Regions from separate parts of the Homo sapiens genome. Here region 1 is linked to region 2. Evidence: promoter capture Hi-C in 16 types of primary human blood cells and fetal thymus (Javierre and others, 2016). All regions are on one chromosome and are shown on one strand. Each heading gives the region's core, a stretch centred on a gene start or on the middle of the fragment in contact. The rest is flanking DNA. Distances are from core to core; before and after follow the strand shown. Region 1 holds the start of NUCB1-AS1 (NUCB1 antisense RNA 1). Region 2 holds the start of FUT1 (fucosyltransferase 1 (H blood group)).

Region 1 (4,726 bases), core at 475-2,974, 170 kb before region 2:
GAGGTGGAGGTTGCAATGAGCTGAGAATGCACCATTGCACTACAGCCTGGGCAACAAGAGCAAAACTCTGTATTGAAAAATAAACAAACAAATAAATAAATAAATAAAACAGAGACCTAGATTAGCTGGGCATGGTGGTATGTGCCTGTAGTCCCAGTTACTCAGGAGGCTAAGGAAGGAGGATCACCTGAGCCCAGGAATTCAAGGCTGCAGTGAACTATGATTACACCACTGCACTCCAGCCTGGGTGACAGGAGACCCTGTCTCAAAAAATATTAATAAATAAATAAAAGAATGAGCTAGATTAGCTAGGCATGCTGGCATGTGCCTGTAGTCCCAGCTAATAGGGAGGCTCAGGCAGGAGGATCACTTGAGGACAGGAGTTTGAGGCTGCAGTGGGCCATGATAACACCCCTGCACTCCAGCCTGGGTAATCCCAGCACTTTGGGAGGCTGAGAAGGGTGGATAGCTTGAGTCCAGGAGTTTCAGAGCAGCCTGGCCAACATGCAAAACCCTGTCTCTACCAAAAAATACAAAAATTAGCTAGGTGTGGTGCGGTGGTGCATGCCTGTAATCCCACCACTTAGGGAGGCCAGGTCAGGTGGATCGCTTGAGTCCAGCAGTTCTAGAGCAGCCTGGCCGATATGGCAAAACCCCATCTCTACAAAAAATACAAAAATTAGCCAGGCATGGTGGCTCACGCCTGTAATCCCAGCTACTCATGAGGCTGAGATGGGAGGATCGCTTGAATCCAAGAGGCGGAGGTTGCAGTGAGCCGAGATCCCACCACTGGGCTCCAGCCTACGCGACAGAGCAAGACCCTGTTTCAGAAAAAAAAAAAAAAAAAAAAAAATCACACCTCTAATCCCAGCACTTTGGGAGGCCAAGGTGGGTGGATAACCTGAGGTCAGGAGTTTGAGACCAGCCTGGCCAACATGGTGAAATCCTGCCTCTACTAAAAATACAAAAATCAGCTGGGTGTGGTGGCACGCACCTATAATCCCAGCTACTCAAGAGGATGAGCCAGGAGAATTGCTTGAACCTGGGAGGTGGAGGCTGCAGTGAGCCGAGATCGTGCCACTGCACTGCAGCCTGGGCGATGGAGTGAGACTCCGTCTCAGAATAAATAAATAAATAAATAAATAAATAAATAAATAAATAAGAGTCCTAGAGACAGGGGAAAACAGAGACCCAGAGATAGAGATGCAGTGACCCAGGAGAATGGACGGGGACCCAGAGAGAAAGAGAAGGGGCCTAAGATTCTGAAAGAAAGGTCATGGCTAGAAGAGAGAGAGGTTCAGGACCCCGAGTATCCCCCATGTTCTCACCTCCCAGCCCTCCCCGGTGTCCCCAAACTCCTTCCTCTGAGTGGATGCGAGGAACTCCTCCAGGGTCACGAGGCGGTCCTGGTTGGTGTCCACCTGGGGAGCCAGATAAGGGTGAGTGACAGAGCTGGGGGCCCGTCCTCTCCCCCGCCTGGCCCCCACCTCACATTCTTCATCACATGCTCCCGCATGCGCAGTCGCTCCTCCTCCATCTCCCGCATGTCGTCCTCCTCATTCTTTGGGTCGTACACTTTCTCCAGCTGCAGGAGCAAGCGAGAGGCAGACAGCATTGAGAGGTCCCCAGCGAGCTCATTCCCGACAACTTCAACTCCCAGCAGTCCTTTGGGCACGCTACCACTCCTGGGAGCCGTTTTTGCCCCAGGGGCTGATGGGAGTTGTAGTTTTCACTGAGCTCCCATCCAGGGGGATTTAAGGGGACTGCAGGAGGAAACAAGTGGCTGATTTGGGCGTCCCTCCAGGTGCCCGAGGCTTCCAAGATGCTCACCTCCTTGGTGAAGAGTGCCTCCAGCTCCTGCTCATCCAGGACACCATCACTGTTGATATCTGAAGGGAAGAGGATAGCAAGGTATCTCAGGGGACCGAGGACGGGATGTGTAAGGTCCCTGGTGAAGAAATTTTGGGCTGATGTGGGGTCTGTTATCAGAGGACAGGTAACTACGGGTCTCCCGCGGTGGAACGGTGGCCCCCAGGCTTTAGTACCCCACTAGACCCGTTGCTAGGGCCACTGCCTAGCGACCAGGGGGTTGAGAATGGAATAGATCAAAGGGAGGGTTCGAGGAAACATGCTTGGGTCACTGTCATGCAGGATTCTCTGGCCCTGGCATTCAGTGCTCTGGACACAGAGTCAGCTCCAGGGTTATCAGGGACCTCTGCCTCCCAGACAACCAGGCCAGTGCCGACTCCAGTTGTGAGGGGAGCCTCTCCTACCAACGTAGACCCCACAGCTGCAGGGCTTCAGGCTCGGTCAGCCACACTTCCTGTCCTCACCACCGGCCCTCCTTCCTCGGCTCCCTCAGACAAGCACAACCTTCCTCCTGAGGAGGAGGCCAGGAACCCTCATCTTGCAAATCCAGTGGTTAATTTCCACCTGCATCTGACTTGACTTTCTGCCCTTGGCTTCCAGAACATGATTCTGTCCTCTCTGGCTGCCCCTCCACCTCCTTTGACGGCTCCATCCTCTTCCTGACCTCCACATGCTAGTGTGGCCCAGGGCTCAGGCCTGGGGGTCTCTTCTCTGCCTAAACTCTGGATCTGCGCTGTCCAGTACAGTAGCCGCTAGCCACATGGGCTGTTTAAATGTAAATTGATTAAGATTAAAGAAAATGTAGGGGCCAAATTTAGGGGCTCATGCCTGTAATCCCAGTACTTTGGAAGGCTAAGGCAAGATCATTTGAGCACATTAAGTTCGAGACCAGCTTAGAAAAGATGGCTAGACCCCGTCTCTACAAAAAAAAAAAAAAAAGTAAAAAATTGGGCCGGGTGCGGTGGCTCACGCCTGTAATCCCAGCACTTTGGGAGGCCGAGGCAGGAGGATCACCTGAAGTCAGGAGTTCAAGACCAGCCTGGCCAGCATAGTAAAACCCCGTCTCTACAAAAATACAAAAATTAGCCAGGCATAATGCCAAGTGCCTGTAACCCCAGCTACTCAGGAGGCTGAGGCAGGAGAATAGCTTGAACCTGGGAGGCGGGGGTTGCAGTGTGCCAAGATCATGCCATTGCACTCCAGCCTGGGCAACAGAGCAAGACTCTGCCTCAAAAAGAAAAAAAAAATTTAAAAATTGGCTGGGCATGGTGGTGTGCACCTATGATCCCAGCTACTCTAAGGGTTGAGGTGGAAGAATCACTTGAGCCCAGGAGGTCTGGGTTGCAGTGAGCCATGATCACGCCACTGCACTCCAGCCTGGGTGACAAAGGGAAGCCCCATCTCTAAAAATAAAAAAAATGAAAAATAAAAAAAGGTATAGGGAGTTGCTCTGAACCTATTCTGGTCTGTAGGGACTGCCTGATTAAAAAGATTAAATAAGGTTTTTATTTTTTTATTTTTTAGAGACAGGGTCTCACTCTGTCACCCAGGCTGGAGTGCAATGGTGTGATCGTAGCTCACTGAAGCCTTGAACTCCTCGGCTCAAGTGATCCTCCCACCTCAGCCTCCCAAGTAGCTGGGACTACAGATGCACGCCACCACACCCAGCTAATTTTTGTATTTGTTTTCATAGAGATGGGGTTTTGCCATGTTGCCCAGGCTGGTCTTGAACTCCTGGTCTCAAGGGATCCAGCCGCCTTGGCTTCGCAAAGTGCTGGGATTATAGGGGTAAGCCACTGCGCCGGGCCTATTTATTTGTTTATTTATTTTTGAGACAGAGTCTCGCTCTGTTGCCAGGCTGGAGTGCAGTGGCATGATCTCAGCTCACTGCAACCTCCACCTCCAGGGTTTAAGTGATTCTCCTGCCTCAGCCTCCTGAGTAGCTGGGACTGCAGGTGCGTGCCACCATGCCCAGATAATTTTTGTATTTTTAGTAGAGACGGGGTTTCACTATGTTGGCCAGGATGGTCTCGATCTCTTGAGCTCCTGATCTGCCTGCCTTGGCCTCCGAAAGTGCTGGGACTACAGGCGTGAGCCACTGAGCCCAGCCTATTTTCTATTTTTTAGAGACAGGGTTTCACTCTGTTGCCCAGGCTGGAGGGCACTGGTATGATCATAGCTCACTGCAGCCTTGAATTCCTGGACTCAAGTGATCCTCCCACCTCTGCCTCCCAAGGAGCTGGGACTACAGATGCACGCCACCACACCCAGCTAATTTTTGTATTTTATTTGTAGAGATGGGTTTGTGCCATGTTGCCCAGGCTGGCCTTGAACTCCTGGACTCAAGGGATCCACCCACCTCGGCCTCCCAAAGTGCTGGGATTACAGGCGTGAGCCACCGCATCCAGCCCAAATGTCCTCTCTAGAGCTGTGCTGGGACTCCAGTACAGCAGCCACTAGCCACATGGGGCAATTGAAATAGAAATTAATATCCAGTAGAATGAAAACTTCAGTTCCTCACCATTATGCTAAGTGAAATAAGCCAAACACACACACACACACACACACACACACGACAAATACCAAAAGATTCTACTTGCATGAAGTACCTAAAATAGTCAAAATCATAGAGACAGAAAATAGAATGGTGGTTGCTAGAGAGCAGGGGAAAGAAGGGGAGGGCGAGTGGTTTAATGGATACGGTTTCGGTTGTGCGAGATGAAGAGCTCTCAGAATTGGTTGCATGACAGTGTAAATATACTTAATACTATTGAACTGTACAATTAAACATCTTTAAAGCTGGGCGCAGTGGCACACACCTGCAGTCTCAGCTACTCAGGTGACTGAGGCAGGAGGA
Region 2 (4,915 bases), core at 361-2,860:
CCTCTTTGAAGTTCGTAGTAGATAGCGGTAGAAGAAATAGTGAAAGCCTTTTTTTTTTTTTTTTTGAGGCGGAGTCTCGCTCTGTCCCCCAGGCTGGAGTGCAGTGGCGTGATCTCGGCTCACTGCAATCTCCGCCTCCTGGGTTCACACCATTCTCCTGCCTCACCCTCCCAAATAGCTAGGACTACAGGCGCCCTCCACCACGCGCCCGGATAATTTTTTGTATTTTTAGTAGAGACAGGGTTTCACCGTGTTAGCCAGGATGGCCTCCACCTCCTGACCTTGTGATCCGCCCGCCTCAGCCTCCCAAAGTGCTGGGATTACAGGCGTGAGCCACCGCGCCCGCCCGAAATAGTGAAAGTCTTAAAGTCTTTGATCTTTCTTATAAGTGCAGAGAAGAAAACGCTGACATATGCTGCCTTCTCTTTCTGCTTCGGCTGCCTAAAAGGGAAGGGCCCCCTGTCCCATGATCACGTGACTTGCTTGACCTTATCAGTCATTTGGACGACTCACCCTCCTTATCCTGCCCCCCCTTGTCTTGTATACAATAAATATCAGCGCGCCCAGCCATTCGGGGCCACTACCGGTCTCTGCGTCTTGATGGTAGTGGTCCCCCGGGCCCAGCTGTTTTCTCTTTATCTCTTTGTCTTGTGTCTTTATTTCTTACAATCTCTCCTCTCCTCACAGGGGAAGAACACCCACCCGCAAAGCCCCGTAGGGCTGGACCCTACGTTAGCCTGCCCTGCTCGGGGTTGGCGATGCTGGAGGTGGGCCTTGGACCAGAGAAAATGCTTTAATTAGGTGACAAGCGGGCAGAGGCCTTTGTCTCTGGCGCCGGCAGCCACGGCCCCCGCTGACGGCGTGGGAAACAGACCCTGTTCCACTCCGGTCTCCAGCCTTGGAATGGTTGCCTTCGTGCAGTGCAGGTCTGGAAAGTAGCAGTTTGGCACGGGACCCTAGAATTCCCCAAAAGGAGTGACTAGGGGCTGGGATTCTGGAATTTGAGTGTGGACGGTGAGGCGGGGGGTGTGGGAGATCGGAGACCCTGGTGGGCGCGGGAGCACCTGCAGGCTGGAGGCCCTCGCGCGCTCCGGCGGCAGCCTGGCAAACAGGTTCTCCATCCCCCAGGAGGACGCGGCAGAGGGCGGACGATCGCTCCACTCGCCGGGACCAGGTGCGGGGGCCCTGCCCAGCCGCTGGGGCGTGGCCAGGCTCGAAGCACCCAGGTGTCGGGGGCCGACTCTAAGCCCTGGCACCGGAAGAGAGAGGGCGGCGGATTGGACCTCCCGGCTCCAGCATTGCAACTGGGCGCTCCGTCTCCTGGTCCACGCAATGATGCTGCGGCTGCTCAGAAGCCAGGTAGCCTGCCCTGGGTGAAGCCTTCGCGCAGGTCAATGACGGGGCGGAGGGGCAGGGCGCGGTCCCCTGCATCCCCGATCTGGGGAGCGGTGGGCCCAGGGGCCATCGCCTTAGCCCCTGGCGCTGGGGCTCGGCGCCAAGTGACGGGCGGGGCTCCACCTTCCAGCCATCCGCCCGGCCCGGGAGGGCGGACGCTGCGAGACTCCCGGCCGCGCCCTCTCCTTCCTCTCCTCCCCAAGCCCTCGCTGCCAGTCCGGACAGGCTGCGCGGAGGGGAGGGCTGCCGGGCCGGATAGCCGGACGCCTGGCGTTCCAGGGGCGGCCGGATGTGGCCTGCCTTTGCGGAGGGTGCGCTCCGGCCACGAAAAGCGGACTGTGGATCTGCCACCTGCAAGCAGCTCGGGTAAGTGGGGACTGCCCCACTCAGTTGTTCCTGGGACCCAGGAACAACTCCTTCAGAACCAGGAGGTGCACCCCCAACCTCTTCTCCAGGTCTTCCTAAGGCCCTAGGAATCTCCGCCACCTCCCCAGCCATTACTCCTCCAGGAACCAAGATGCTCCTTCCGCTCCTGACCCTCCAGCCTCTCTTGTTTTACTTGAACTATCGTTTCCCATCACCACCTCTGTGGTGGATTTTGCGCCTCACAGACAGGTACTCCTGAGAAACAGGCTGGTGGAAGAGTCCAGTATCAGCGGAACTTACAGGAGGGGAGACTCGAGATTCCTTCAGGAAAGGTGTAGGAACCTGGACCACTTTCTTTTTTTTTTTTTTTTTTTTTTTTTAAGACAGGGTCCCTCTCTGTCGCGCAAGCTGGAGTGCAGTCAGCGGTGCTATCGCGGCTCATTGTGAGCTCCGGGGATCCTCCCGCCTTAGCATCCGGTGTAGCTGAGACCACAGACATGTGCCACCATGCCAAGCTAATTTTATTTATTTTTTTTTGGAGACGGAGTTTCACTCTTGTTGCCCAGGCTGGAGTGTAATGGCATGATCTCAGCTCACCGCAACTCCCGCCCCCCGGGTTCAGGCGATTCTCCTGCCTCAGCCTCCCGAGTGGCTGGGATTACAGGCATGCGCCACCATGCCCGGCTAATTTTGTATTTTAAGTAGAGACAGGGTTTCTCCACGTTGGTCAGGCTGGTCTCGAACTCCCAACCTCAGGTGATCCACCCACCTTGGCCTCCCAAAGTGCTGGGGTTACAGGTGTGAGCCACCGCGCCTGGCCCATGCCAAGCTAATTTTAAAATTTTTTTGTAAGAGTGCTCTGTTGCCCAGGCTGATCTTGAACTCCTGGGCTCAAGGGATCCTCCCATCTCAGCCTCCCAATATGCTGGGATTACAGGTGTGAGCCACAGTGCCCAGCCAAACCATGGCTATCTTGAAAACCACTTGTCTTCCAGTCCCCATGCCCCGAAATTCCAAGGCTCTCATCCCTGAAACCTAGGACTCAGGCTCTCCCTACCTCAGCCCCAGGAGTCTAAACCTTTAACTTCCTCTTTCCCTGGGACTAAGGAGTGCTGCACCCCAGGCGCCTCCCTTACCCCACATCCCTCCTCAGCCTCCCCTCCTCAGCCTCAGAGCATTTGCTAATTCGCCTTTCCTCCCCTGCAGCCATGTGGCTCCGGAGCCATCGTCAGCTCTGCCTGGCCTTCCTGCTAGTCTGTGTCCTCTCTGTAATCTTCTTCCTCCATATCCATCAAGACAGCTTTCCACATGGCCTAGGCCTGTCGATCCTGTGTCCAGACCGCCGCCTGGTGACACCCCCAGTGGCCATCTTCTGCCTGCCGGGTACTGCGATGGGCCCCAACGCCTCCTCTTCCTGTCCCCAGCACCCTGCTTCCCTCTCCGGCACCTGGACTGTCTACCCCAATGGCCGGTTTGGTAATCAGATGGGACAGTATGCCACGCTGCTGGCTCTGGCCCAGCTCAACGGCCGCCGGGCCTTTATCCTGCCTGCCATGCATGCCGCCCTGGCCCCGGTATTCCGCATCACCCTGCCCGTGCTGGCCCCAGAAGTGGACAGCCGCACGCCGTGGCGGGAGCTGCAGCTTCACGACTGGATGTCGGAGGAGTACGCGGACTTGAGAGATCCTTTCCTGAAGCTCTCTGGCTTCCCCTGCTCTTGGACTTTCTTCCACCATCTCCGGGAACAGATCCGCAGAGAGTTCACCCTGCACGACCACCTTCGGGAAGAGGCGCAGAGTGTGCTGGGTCAGCTCCGCCTGGGCCGCACAGGGGACCGCCCGCGCACCTTTGTCGGCGTCCACGTGCGCCGTGGGGACTATCTGCAGGTTATGCCTCAGCGCTGGAAGGGTGTGGTGGGCGACAGCGCCTACCTCCGGCAGGCCATGGACTGGTTCCGGGCACGGCACGAAGCCCCCGTTTTCGTGGTCACCAGCAACGGCATGGAGTGGTGTAAAGAAAACATCGACACCTCCCAGGGCGATGTGACGTTTGCTGGCGATGGACAGGAGGCTACACCGTGGAAAGACTTTGCCCTGCTCACACAGTGCAACCACACCATTATGACCATTGGCACCTTCGGCTTCTGGGCTGCCTACCTGGCTGGCGGAGACACTGTCTACCTGGCCAACTTCACCCTGCCAGACTCTGAGTTCCTGAAGATCTTTAAGCCGGAGGCGGCCTTCCTGCCCGAGTGGGTGGGCATTAATGCAGACTTGTCTCCACTCTGGACATTGGCTAAGCCTTGAGAGCCAGGGAGACTTTCTGAAGTAGCCTGATCTTTCTAGAGCCAGCAGTACGTGGCTTCAGAGGCCTGGCATCTTCTGGAGAAGCTTGTGGTGTTCCTGAAGCAAATGGGTGCCCGTATCCAGAGTGATTCTAGTTGGGAGAGTTGGAGAGAAGGGGGACGTTTCTGGAACTGTCTGAATATTCTAGAACTAGCAAAACATCTTTTCCTGATGGCTGGCAGGCAGTTCTAGAAGCCACAGTGCCCACCTGCTCTTCCCAGCCCATATCTACAGTACTTCCAGATGGCTGCCCCCAGGAATGGGGAACTCTCCCTCTGGTCTACTCTAGAAGAGGGGTTACTTCTCCCCTGGGTCCTCCAAAGACTGAAGGAGCATATGATTGCTCCAGAGCAAGCATTCACCAAGTCCCCTTCTGTGTTTCTGGAGTGATTCTAGAGGGAGACTTGTTCTAGAGAGGACCAGGTTTGATGCCTGTGAAGAACCCTGCAGGGCCCTTATGGACAGGATGGGGTTCTGGAAATCCAGATAACTAAGGTGAAGAATCTTTTTAGTTTTTTTTTTTTTTTTTTGGAGACAGGGTCTCGCTCTGTTGCCCAGGCTGGAGTGCAGTGGCGTGATCTTGGCTCACTGCAACTTCCGCCTCCTGTGTTCAAGCGATTCTCCTGTCTCAGCCTCCTGAGTAGATGGGACTACAGGCACAGGCCATTATGCCTGGCTAATTTTTGTATTTTTAGTAGAGACAGGGTTTCACCATGTTGGCCAGGATGGTCTCGATCTCCTGACCTTGTCATCCACCTGTCTTGGCCTCCCAAAGTGCTGGGATTACTGGCATGAGCCACTGTGCCCAG

What was found. The method cuts DNA at HindIII sites, captures the fragments that hold promoters and counts their contacts. A CHiCAGO score of 5 or more calls a contact.
Region 1: the fragment with the promoter of NUCB1-AS1 here is called in contact with the fragment with the promoter of FUT1 in region 2 in 2 of 17 cell types (naive B cells and monocytes); the score reaches 5.4 in naive B cells.

Annotation. Positions count from the first base shown.
Region 1 is chr19:48,915,889-48,920,614 of GRCh38, reverse strand. NUCB1-AS1 (NUCB1 antisense RNA 1) reads left to right here and starts at 1,724. Exons shown (of 2, transcript NR_046633.1): 1 at 1,724-1,911. NUCB1 (nucleobindin 1) reads right to left here. Exons shown (of 13, transcript NM_006184.6): 8 at 1,831-1,889; 9 at 1,493-1,585; 10 at 1,329-1,421. RefSeq lists an enhancer at 1,026-1,525. The HindIII fragment of the contact is 8,372 bases long and covers 1-4,726 here.
Region 2 is chr19:48,749,336-48,754,250 of GRCh38, reverse strand. FUT1 (fucosyltransferase 1 (H blood group)) reads left to right here and starts at 1,610. Exons shown (of 2, transcript NM_001384359.1): 1 at 1,610-1,761; 2 at 2,968-4,915. The coding sequence starts at 2,970. The coding sequence ends at 4,067. RefSeq lists enhancers at 822-1,408, 2,614-3,253 and a silencer at 1,524-1,573. The HindIII fragment of the contact is 14,557 bases long and covers 1-4,153 here.